3 separate regions of the Homo sapiens genome follow, and all the other regions are linked to region 3. Evidence: promoter capture Hi-C in 16 types of primary human blood cells and fetal thymus (Javierre and others, 2016). All regions are on one chromosome and are shown on one strand. Each heading gives the region's core, a stretch centred on a gene start or on the middle of the fragment in contact. The rest is flanking DNA. Distances are from core to core; before and after follow the strand shown.

Evidence for each region. Contacts are between HindIII fragments. The CHiCAGO score rates a contact against its expected background, and 5 or more counts as called.
Region 1: the fragment with the promoter of BIN1 here is called in contact with a fragment that was not itself captured in region 3 in 2 of 17 cell types (M0 macrophages and M1 macrophages); the score reaches 5.9 in M0 macrophages.
Region 2: the fragment with the promoter of PROC here is called in contact with a fragment that was not itself captured in region 3 in 1 of 17 cell types (total B cells); the score reaches 5.4 in total B cells.

Annotation. Positions count from the first base shown.
Region 1 is chr2:127,104,671-127,108,612 of GRCh38, forward strand. It overlaps BIN1 (bridging integrator 1), which reads right to left and starts at 2,484. Exons shown (of 19, transcript NM_139343.3): 1 at 2,190-2,484. The coding sequence starts at 2,273. LOC105373605 (a long non-coding RNA gene) reads left to right here and starts at 2,475. Exons shown (of 4, transcript XR_923311.4): 1 at 2,475-3,145. RefSeq lists silencers at 2,332-2,541, 2,423-2,717, 2,552-2,611. The HindIII fragment of the contact is 12,156 bases long and covers 1-3,942 here.
Region 2 is chr2:127,415,964-127,419,784 of GRCh38, forward strand. PROC (protein C, inactivator of coagulation factors Va and VIIIa) reads left to right here and starts at 2,464. Exons shown (of 9, transcript NM_000312.4): 1 at 2,464-2,529. RefSeq lists enhancers at 1-187, 568-627. The HindIII fragment of the contact is 16,432 bases long and covers 702-3,821 here.
Region 3 is chr2:127,284,725-127,288,479 of GRCh38, forward strand. It overlaps ERCC3 (ERCC excision repair 3, TFIIH core complex helicase subunit), which reads right to left. Exons shown (of 15, transcript NM_000122.2): 8 at 1,979-2,293. Among named protein-coding and RNA genes, the nearest start is that of ERCC3, 7.5 kb to the right of the region's middle. The HindIII fragment of the contact is 1,319 bases long and covers 1,847-3,165 here.

The sequences.
Region 1 (3,942 bases), core at 1,234-3,733, 180 kb before region 3:
ACAGTGGGAGTTAGAGGCGGCACTGATCACCAACAGAAGACACTGAGGATGACCCTCCAATGATGGCACAGACTCTACAGGAAGGCACACAGCAGAGGCTGCTGTGGGTTGAGGCATGGGGCTTCCTGCGAGCAGGGCCTGCAACCCAAAGGGAGGGGAAGGCTACTTTCAGAGACCTGGCCTGGATGCCTGTCATGATGGTCATGCTGCCTTGGTTTCTGATGGGGGGAGGGTCCCTAACTAGTCTCCGGCAGGCAGAGAGCAGCTGGAACACTAAACAACTCCAGTCCCAGGAAGCCCGGCATGGGCAAGGTCAGCTGTTGGCCAAGACCAGCATGCCTAGCTGACCAACTGTCAGCCAACTGCCCGTGGCCACAGAACAGGGGCTCAAGAGAGAGGGATGGTGTCTCAGGAGCTCAGTGATACATCACCACCTCCTTGGAGGGGACACAGCCCTTGCCTACTGCCCCGAGAATGACATCAAAGATGCTGCTGCAGAGAAAAGACAACCAGGGCAAAGGAGACACACCAAGAGCCTTGGGGAGCCAGGAAGGGGTGGGACACCAGTGGGAAGGGGGCAGGGAACACAGCTCAGCTAACCTCCCTTCCCATTCATCTCCCTGGCCCTTTAGGGAAGGAAGCAGGCTCTGGCCCAGGGCTGCCTGCTCCAGGCACACAGATGGATTACCCAGTCATGGCAGCCCGGAGCAGGGGTGGCTGCATCTGTGCTGCCACCCCCCCACCCCACAACCTGAAGTCTTCCCAGCCCCCAGCCAGCTATTCCTGGGGCTTTAATCCCTCCTCCTCCTCCTCCTCCTCCTCCTCCTCCTCCTTCCCTGGGGTGGGGGGTTGGGGAGCTGGGTCTGGGCAAACCTGGACTTGGCTGAGGGCCCTTCCTTCAATGCACACCCACCCACCTCCTTAGCCAGGAAACACAGGGATGAGCAGTAGGACTCTGAGGGAGGTATGGGGAAGCTCTAGGCGCCCCCCTCTCCCCCATCCCCCAGCAATCACGTGGTTGCATCCTTAGGGAGCCCGCGGGTCTCAGAAGCAAAAGTCATTGTTTATAAACAGCCACCAGGCCTGGCAGGGGAAGGCCGGCCTGTCCCTGCGCCTCCACCCGGCGGCCGCGCAGCGGGTGGGAGAGGGGGCAGGCCTGGCCGCGGGGCACTGGGGGGCCACCCTGGCAGAAACACAGATTCTGCAATCTCAGATTTCAGAGTTGGAGTCGTCAGGGGAAGTGGCGTCAGCAGCTGGCGTGATCCAATTCAATAAACCAGAGGTGGCTTGGGATAGACAACTGACCGGGTGCAGACCCCCGCCCCTCAATCTCTGCATTTCCTGCACGCTCTGGGCACCCTGGGAGGCCCCGGCTCCATCCCCCATTCCAGCTCTCCGCGAGGAGGGGTCGGGTTTCCTGTGGCGCCTTCCACGCGCCTCCTCCAGGCCAGCTCCCCACCCGGCCGTGGGCTCCCAAAGCCAGTGCCGCCACCCGCTCCCCGGCCGCCGGAAACGCTAAGCCCCTGCTGGGGCGAGGGCACCTCCTTGCGGGGTGCGTAGCCCTGGGCTCCCGGTGGGGCCGGGCTGGGCGGGAGCTTCCAGGCCGCAGGCACCTCTCGGGAAAGGAAACCCAATCCCTCCTTCGGCCCACGGAGAACGAAAGTGGAGAAGCAGTGGGAAGGAAGGAACTGTGGGTGCCGGTTCGAGAAGCAGCCTTGGGAGTCCGGGGGAATAGTGTCCCCAGGGGCAGAGGGACATACTCCCTCTCGCCCCGAGCGCCGGCCCAGCCTAGGTTGCCTGCATGGGCCTGGAGAGCTGAGGGTCACCACCTGGCCTCCCAGCCTCCCGGCCCTTGGCCTCCAAAGCGGGGTAGCCTGGAGCGCGCGCCTGAGAAGAGCCTGGAGCAGGGCCGGCCACTGCTGTGCAGCCGAGCCACGAAGGTGCAAAGCGGGGCCCTGTCCTGCCCCGGCCGGGTGTGGGGAGACAGAGGACGCAAACCTAAGAGGGCACCCAGAGCGCCGGGGAACGCAGCCTGGGGACCTCGAAGCCCCTCGAAAGCGCTCCTCTAGAGGTGACAGCACCAGATCCTGGCGAAGGACCAGGCCCCGGGGTCGGAGGATAGGGGGACAGGTGGCCGGGGCTCCGCGGCGGCTGGGACTCCGCGGCTGCTGGGGCTCCGGCTCGCTCACCTTCTCCTGCGCGCGGGTGAGCTTCTTCTGCACGTTGCTGGCGATCTTTCCCGCCGTCACCCCTTTACTGCCCATCTCTGCCATCGCGGCGCAGGCCTCGCCCGGTGGCAGGGGCCGCTCTCGCGCGGGGAGATCTTGCGCGCCGCGCTCCCAGCCCCCAGCCCCGGCCGCGCGTCCAGACCGGCTGCCGCTCCACGCCGCGCACCCGACAGCGGAGCCAACTGACGGAGGCGGAGCGTGCGCCGGACGGGCGAGCGAGCCAGCGAGCTAGCCAGCGAGCGACGCGGGGACAGAGGGAGGGAGAGGGGAGGGGCCGGGCCTCAGGCCGCGGTCGGCGCCCCCCGCCCGCCCCCTCCGGACAATAAGCTGCCTTTTAAAGGGCCACTCCGGGCGCCGGCACCGCCAGGTCCGCGAGGAGGGAGGGGCGCGCGCGGCGCTGGGGCTGCGGCGAGCGGGACTCCCCTGACGCTCCAGCTGCACCGCCCCGGGGCGGGGACTAATCCGCCGGCCTGGCGTCTTGGTCTTCCCCGCAAGCAGTAATCTCCTGCAACCCAGGAAAGGAGACTAGGTGGAGGAGAGGAGTGCTTTCGAAATCAAAGAGAAAGTGCGGCGAAGGGGGCGCGGCCCTGAACAGAGGAGCCGCGGCTGCTGGGAGAACGCGCCCGGAGCCCCCTCCTTTTCCAGGGGCTCACCTCCCGCCCGGTGCCCGGTGCCCGGTGCCCGACGCTCCGCCTCCTCCCAGCCTTCGGCCCTCGGGTTTTCGCCCGGATACCCTAGGCGCCTCCGGGACATCTCCACATCTTTGCCTACGGCGCCTAGCCCAGTACCAACCGGTGCTTGGTCTTCCCGTTCGCTAAAAATTTATTATAATAACAACAACCTAGCATTACTGAGTGCTTACTGTGTACTAAGTGACTTGACAGGCATTATTTCATTCGGTCTCCGTGGCCCTAGAGGTAGGTGCTATTACTGTTCCTACTTTACAACCAACGCGCCGGGATCGAGGAACGAGATCTCTGCCTCTGTCTCCCAGGTGCTCCACCACCATACGCCGGGTTGTCTCCTACCCCCAGCAGGAAGGAATGATTAGTGATCATTATTCCTGGAGAAGATAAGGTTATTGCTAACCAGCTTTGCCAATAGACCAATGACACTTCTTTTAAGTTAATAAATACGTATTGAGTCTGCTGATACCCACCCCCATTCAGCCCTAAAACATGTCAGGGGCTACAGCACTTTGCTGCCCCTGGAAATTTCTAAAGAACTGTTGATTGAGTTGAGCAGAGAGATAGGTCCCGCTGAAGAGGCCTAGACGTGTCTGGTGCACACACAGGAGCCAGGGCTATGGCCTGCAGGACCCGCAGCGGTCAGAGGAGCAGAGCTGGCCAGGGACAGAGGTCCCTGAGAGGCTTCCTGGAGGAACAGGAAGGGCTCTTGCAGACCACAAACCAAGCAGTTTGTACAAATGGAGAAATCGAGTCCCAGGAATGAGAGGTTCAGCCTGGGTTCACACAGGCCATTCCCTCTTCCCTGGAAGGCCCTCCTGCTCTTTCTCCGGCTACTCGGGGTTCTTCCACCACCGCTCAGTGCTGCCCCATGGCCCAGTGTGTTCGTCTGTCCTCTTCCGGGCCTATTATCATGATGTCCCTCGGTATCCCCCAGGGGACTGGTTCCAGCACATCCGTGGATACCAAAATCCAGGGATGCTCAAGTCCCTCATATGAATTGACACAGTATCTGCATATAGCGTACA
Region 2 (3,821 bases), core at 1,214-3,713, 130 kb after region 3:
TGGGGCGACTCACACCTGACAAGTAAAGCGGGTGAGGCCGCGCCTGTGAAGGGCGCCTGGCTCCTCCGCAGGAGCGGTGCGGCGCGGCGCCCCCGGCTGGAACCAGGTGTAACTGCAGAGACCCTGGGATCGCAGGAACGGCTGGCGGCAGGACTGTCCCTACCTCGAGAAGGTGACGGGGTTTCCTGCGCTGCCAGCCGATGAGGCGGCCGTGACGCAGCCCGCCGTGCAGAGTCCCCGTCGGCCGACAGGCGTGCAGAGCTCTGCAGAGGACCCTTCCGCCCTCTGGGCAGCCTGCCAAGCCGTGGCACCCCCAACCCCCAGCACTGGGCACTTGGGAGCATTGCAGCCGCCCTGGCTCGTACCGGTGCCGGTGCTTTGGGCACCTGGGCTGGTTTGGACATGGGTGCCCCGGGCAGAGTCCATTTATGCAGGTCAGAATCAGTGTGTGGAGCCTGCATAGACTTGCCCTGGAGCGGCTGCCTGTGCTGGGGTGGGGAGGAGTAGAGGGCGAGAAGTTGGTGGGGAAGGGAAGCGGCGCCAAAAGAATACCCACAACATCTTGCACCTGGAAGGCAAAGCAGAGGGCAGTGATCTCTGCAGACTTGCGGGGGCGACGCCTGAAGCAAACAGGGACATACAAGCTGGTGCCTTCTGTGGTTGTGCATGGGGTCTTCATGCTTCCTGTCTGAGTTCCCAGAAGCTTGTCTCTGCTTTTCTAGGCAGCTGCCACAGCCTGTCACAAACAGCTCCTGGTTCTCCACTTCTCATAGTCTCGATTTCAAAATCCATTGCCTCACCCTCCACCTCCTCTCCACCTCCACCCCTCCTAGCACCTCCTGACTGCTTGTGTTCTGTGTCTCCCCACTGTCTCCCAACCTGGGGTGGGGTTGGGGGGGATGTCTTTCCTCCTGTCTGCTCTTTGATGTCCAGCTGAAGTGTCACCTCCTACAGGCAGCCTCCCCTGGCTATGCCAGCTTGTACTGATTGCCCTCTCCTCTGAATTCTGTAAGCATTTCCTATGTGTACCTGCCCCTGGGCAAGGTGGGCCTGACTTGTTAGAGTGTTAGAGTTTTACCCTGTTCCTCTAGGAGGGCCTGGTACCACCACAGCCCAGCATGGTGTGGTGCCTCAGCAGGAGGCATCTGGTTACAATCAACACAAGCTGTTCCAGCCAATTTAAAGAAACTTCAGGAGGAATAGGGTTTTAGGAGGGCATGGGGACCCTCCTGCACCCGAAGCCAGGATGTGCCACCAATCATAAGGAGGCAGGGGCCTCCTTCCGCTGCTCCCTGGGACTCTCTAGGTGTCCGTGGCCTCAGTCCCCCTCTGCACACCTGCATCTTCCTTCTCATCAGCTTCCTCTGCTTTAAGCGTAAACATGGATGCCCAGGACCTGGCCTCAATCTTCCGAGTCTGGTACTTATGGTGTACTGACAGTGTGAGACCCTACTCCTCTGATCAATCCCCTGGGTTGGTGACTTCCCTGTGCAATCAATGGAAGCCAGCGAGGCAGGGTCACATGCCCCGTTTAGAGGTGCAGACTTGGAGAAGGAACGTGGGCAAGTCTTCCCAGGAACAGGTAGGGCAGGGAGGAAAGGGGGGCATCTCTGGTGCAGCCCGGTTCGGAGCAGGAAGACGCTTAATAAATGCTGATAGACTGCAGGACACAGGCAAAGGTGCTGAGCTGGACCCTTTATTTCTGCCCTTCTCCCTTCTGGCACCCCGGCCAGGAAATTGCTGCAGCCTTTCTGGAATCCCGTTCATTTTTCTTACTGGTCCACAAAAGGGGCCAAATGGAAGCAGCAAGACCTGAGTTCAAATTAAATCTGCCAACTACCAGCTCAGTGAATCTGGGCGAGTAACACAAAACTTGAGTGTCCTTACCTGAAAAATAGAGGTTAGAGGGATGCTATGTGCCATTGTGTGTGTGTGTTGGGGGTGGGGATTGGGGGTGATTTGTGAGCAATTGGAGGTGAGGGTGGAGCCCAGTGCCCAGCACCTATGCACTGGGGACCCAAAAAGGAGCATCTTCTCATGATTTTATGTATCAGAAATTGGGATGGCATGTCATTGGGACAGCGTCTTTTTTCTTGTATGGTGGCACATAAATACATGTGTCTTATAATTAATGGTATTTTAGATTTGACGAAATATGGAATATTACCTGTTGTGCTGATCTTGGGCAAACTATAATATCTCTGGGCAAAAATGTCCCCATCTGAAAAACAGGGACAACGTTCCTCCCTCAGCCAGCCACTATGGGGCTAAAATGAGACCACATCTGTCAAGGGTTTTGCCCTCACCTCCCTCCCTGCTGGACGGCATCCTTGGTGGGCAGAGGTGGGCTTCGGGCAGAACAAGCCGTGCTGAGCTAGGACCAGGAGTGCTAGTGCCACTGTTTGTCTATGGAGAGGGAGGCCTCAGTGCTGAGGGCCAAGCAAATATTTGTGGTTATGGATTAACTCGAACTCCAGGCTGTCATGGCGGCAGGACGGCGAACTTGCAGTATCTCCACGACCCGCCCCTGTGAGTCCCCCTCCAGGCAGGTCTATGAGGGGTGTGGAGGGAGGGCTGCCCCCGGGAGAAGAGAGCTAGGTGGTGATGAGGGCTGAATCCTCCAGCCAGGGTGCTCAACAAGCCTGAGCTTGGGGTGAAAGGACACAAGGCCCTCCACAGGCCAGGCCTGGCAGCCACAGTCTCAGGTCCCTTTGCCATGCGCCTCCCTCTTTCCAGGCCAAGGGTCCCCAGGGCCCAGGGCCATTCCAACAGACAGTTTGGAGCCCAGGACCCTCCATTCTCCCCACCCCACTTCCACCTTTGGGGGTGTCGGATTTGAACAAATCTCAGAAGTGGCCTCAGAGGGAGTCGGCAAGAATGGAGAGCAGGGTCCGGTAGGGTGTGCAGAGGGCCACGTGGCCTATCCACTGGGGAGGGTTCCTTGATCTCTGGCCACCAGGGCTATCTCTGTGGCCTTTTGGAGCACCTGGTGGTTTGGGGCAGGGGTTGAATTTCCAGGCCTAAAACCACACAGGCCTGGCCTTGAGTCCTGGCTCTGCGAGTAATGCATGGATGTAAACATGGAGACCCAGGACCTTGCCTCAGTCTTCCGAGTCTGGTGCCTGCAGTGTACTGATGGTGTGAGACCCTACTCCTGGAGGATGGGGGACAGAATCTGATCGATCCCCTGGGTTGGTGACTTCCCTGTGCAATCAACGGAGACCAGCAAGGGTTGGATTTTTAATAAACCACTTAACTCCTCCGAGTCTCAGTTTCCCCCTCTATGAAATGGGGTTGACAGCATTAATAACTACCTCTTGGGTGGTTGTGAGCCTTAACTGAAGTCATAATATCTCATGTTTACTGAGCATGAGCTATGTGCAAAGCCTGTTTTGAGAGCTTTATGTGGACTAACTCCTTTAATTCTCACAACACCCTTTAAGGCACAGATACACCACGTTATTCCATCCATTTTACAAATGAGGAAACTGAGGCATGGAGCAGTTAAGCATCTTGCCCAACATTGCCCTCCAGTAAGTGCTGGAGCTGGAATTTGCACCGTGCAGTCTGGCTTCATGGCCTGCCCTGTGAATCCTGTAAAAATTGTTTGAAAGACACCATGAGTGTCCAATCAACGTTAGCTAATATTCTCAGCCCAGTCATCAGACCGGCAGAGGCAGCCACCCCACTGTCCCCAGGGAGGACACAAACATCCTGGCACCCTCTCCACTGCATTCTGGAGCTGCTTTCTAGGCAGGCAGTGTGAGCTCAGCCCCACGTAGAGCGGGCAGCCGAGGCCTTCTGAGGCTATGTCTCTAGCG
Region 3 (3,755 bases), core at 1,256-3,755:
CCATGCTGGAGTACAGTTGCACAATCATGGTTCACTGCAGCCTCAACCTCCCAGGTTCAAGTGATCCTCCCACCTCAGCCTCCTCAGCAGCTGAGACCACAGGTGCACACCACCACACTTGGCTAATTAAAAAAATTTTTTTTTGTAGAGACATGTCTCACTATGTTACCCAGGCTAATCTTAAGCTCCTGGGCTCAAGCAATCCTCCTGCCCTGGCCTCCCAAAGTGCTAGGAGACTACAGGTGTCAGCCACCATGCCCACTCCTAATTTGTTAATCTTAATCCCTTAATCTGTTTTTATCAAAAAAGATTCGCCCAAAAAACTATACAGCAATAAAAGGAACAAACTACTGATAAATGCTAAGGCACAGATGAATCATTATGGGAAGTGAAAGAAGCCAGACATAATATATATTGTATGATTGTGTTTATATAAATTTTCCATAAAAAGCAAATCTATAGTGACAGCAGTTCAGTAGTCATCTGAAGCTAGATAGAGAAACAAAGATTGACTGCAAATGAGTACAAAGGAAATCTAAAACTGGATCATGGTGGCCGAATGCAGTGGCTCACGTCTATAATCCCAGTACTTTGGGAGGCCCAAGCAGGCAGATCACTTAAAGTCTGGACTTCAAGACCAGCCTGGCTAACATGGCGAAACCCTTTCTCTACTAAAAATACAAAAATTTGGCCAGGTGTGGTACTTTACGCCTGTAATCCCAGGGTGAGGCTGAGGTGGGCGGATCACCTGAAGTCAGGAGTTTGAGACCAGCCTGACCAACACGGAGAAACCCTGTCTCTACTAAAAATATAAAATTAGCTGGGCATGGTGGCGCACACCTGTAATCCTAGCTACTCGGGAGGCTGAGGCAGGAGAATCACTTGAACCCGGGAGGCAGAGCTTCCAGTGAGCTGAGATTGCACCACTGCACTCCAGCCTGGGCAACAAGAGCGAAACTGTCTCAAATAAAAAAAAATTAGCCGGGTGTGGTAGTACACACCTGTAGTCCCAGCTACTTGGGAGGCTGAGGCAGGGGAATCAGTTGAACCCTAGAGGCGGAGGTTGCAGTGGGCCAAGATCACACGACTGCACTCCAGCCTGGGCAACAAAGCAAGATGCCATCTCAAAAAAAAAAAGAAAAGAAAACTTGGATCATGGTCATGGTTGCACTGGTCCACAAATTTACTAAAACTCATTGGATTATATATTTACAAGGGGTGATTTTATGGTATATAAATTAAATCAATAGAGCAGCTTAAAAAAAAAAGGTTTGCCCATGATACTTGGAGAAGTAGGGCTTCTATTACATATTGACTAAGGATCAATATTCCGGGCTTCAAATAAAACACATCACCACCATTTTGGGAAGGGCTTTTCAGTGCTCCTAACCCAGTTTTTAGAGGGCCATTAAAAAACGGATGAAGCTGAGCAGCAAAAGGAAGATGGAGGAAAGAAAATATCATTTTCTAAATCACTACTGAGCCAGTGATTAAGCAAACTGTGAATGTGAACACTCCTGCCTGCATCCCACTTAAGAATTACTGGCCGGGCACGGTGGCTCACGCCTGTAATCCCAGCACTTTGGGAGGATGAGGTGGGTGGATCACGAGGTCAGGAGTTCAAGACCAGCCTGGCCAAGATGGGGAAACCCTGTCTCTACAAAAATACAAAAATTAGCCTAGCATGGTGGCAGGTGCCTGTAATCCCAGCTACTCAGAGGCTGAGGCAGAGAACTGCTTGAACCTGGGAGGTGGAAGTTGTGGTGAGCTGAGATCGTGCCACTGCACTCCAGCTTGGGTGACAGAGTGAGACTCCCTCTCAAAAAAAAAAAAAAGAACTATTAAAAGCTTTACCCAGCAAGCCAGCAAGTCTTTCTAGCCAGTTGGGTGGGCTACACAGCAGTCCCTTTCCCAACCTAACAACTGGAAATTGGTTTGTCTGTTCAGCAAGTGGACAGCTCAGCTCCAGCCTGCTTACCTGGTATGGTGTGCACTTCATCCAGGATCATGAGGCCCCACTCCTGGGTCTTGAGCCACTCCATGACTCGCTCGGCCTCCCAGGACCTTTTGGTGGTGTGGCCCAGCATGGAGTAGGTGCTAATGGCAACGGAGCAGCCGATGGGCTTGTCCTTGGCATCGGAGGTGAACCGGCAGATCTGGCTGTCGTCAATGGTGGACCACATCTTGAACTGGGCTTTCCACTGCTCCACAGAAACAGCTGAGTTGCCCAGCACCAGACAGCGTTTTCTGACAGTGCATGCAGCAGTCACACCAACCAGGGACTTTCCAGCACCTACAAGAAACAAGAGTGCAATCCCACCCAAGGACAGGTTGAAATGAAGGACAGGGACAGGCAGAATGACTCACAAGTACAGCAATCTAGGAAAATGTCTTGTAACAGTCCACATAGCTGACATCTGAGCGACACACACTGCTCCAGCCTGTTTTCTTCTTTATAATGAGGAGACATGCCCACTTCACATACATATGTGAGAAATGGCAGGCGCTGGGGCCTACTGTAGCACTTTACACACATCTCATTTAAATGTCAAAATCTCAAAACAAACCAGTGAGAAGAGAAATGCCTGTTATTGTTATTTTAAAGATAGAAAAACCTGGCTGAGCCACCATGCCACGGTGGCTCATACCTGTAATCCCAGCACTTTGGGAGGCCGAGGTGGGTAGATCACATGAGGTCAGGAGTTCAAGACCAGCCTGGCCAACATGGTGAAACCCTATCTTTACTAAAAATACAAAAAATTAGCCGGGCATGGTGGCGGGCGCCTATAATCCCGGTCACTTGGGAGGCTGAGGCAGGAGAATATCTTGAACCCAGTAGGCGGAGGTTGTGGTGAGCCAAGATGGCGCCACTACACTCCAGCATGGGCAACGGAGCAAGACTCTGTCTCAAAAAGAAAAAAGAAAGATTGAAAAACTAAAGCTGAGGAGTACTTTACCTTGCCCACAGCCACGGGACAGTGAAGCTACTGGGTCCCAGCATGCCTGGCCCACAGAAGGAGGCACTCGGCAAAAGACCACTATTATTATTACACAGCAAACGGGGCTGAGAATTCAGGGATGCGCTATGTGTGTACAGAGAAAATGAAATTCCAGGAGCTTCTGAGTTTACTACCATCCACCATTTGAAGATCAAGAGAAAAATCAAGCTTTTCCATTAAACAGAGATCCTTCCTTTATTATAAAAATACACTGTGAGTTACCAGGAATAAACGTAAATAAAAAAAATTTGTAAAGTGAAATAAAAAAGGAAAACAACATCAAAATAACCCTTGGAGTTTTGGAAAAAAAGAACCTCCCCTTCCCTGAAGACCTTGCCTCTGTAAGTCCTCAGTGGGGTCCCAAGGTGAGTCTGCTGTGGTCTCTGGCCAAGAAGCTAGGCTAGGACCTGACACTACTGGGATAAGTGGTCAAACAGGTGCCCAGGGGGCCACTCCTGCCTTTCCCTGGACCTGCACACCATCCTAGTCATCCAGGAACACCAAAGTTTCTGCGCTAGGGAGTCTCCAAATACACAACCCCTAAGGCTGATTCAAGAACAAGAACCTAACCCCACTAAGTGCAACAGCCCCTTGCCATCATTACAATCTCACCCCTCATGTGCTCTAATTTTTCTTCGCTGACTCTAGCACCACCCAAGGTTGTACACATCTGCTTACCATCTGTCTCTTCCCCAGAAGAGTGAGCTCCATGAGGTCAGAAGTGTTGTTCTAGCCACCATAATACCCCCAGTGTCC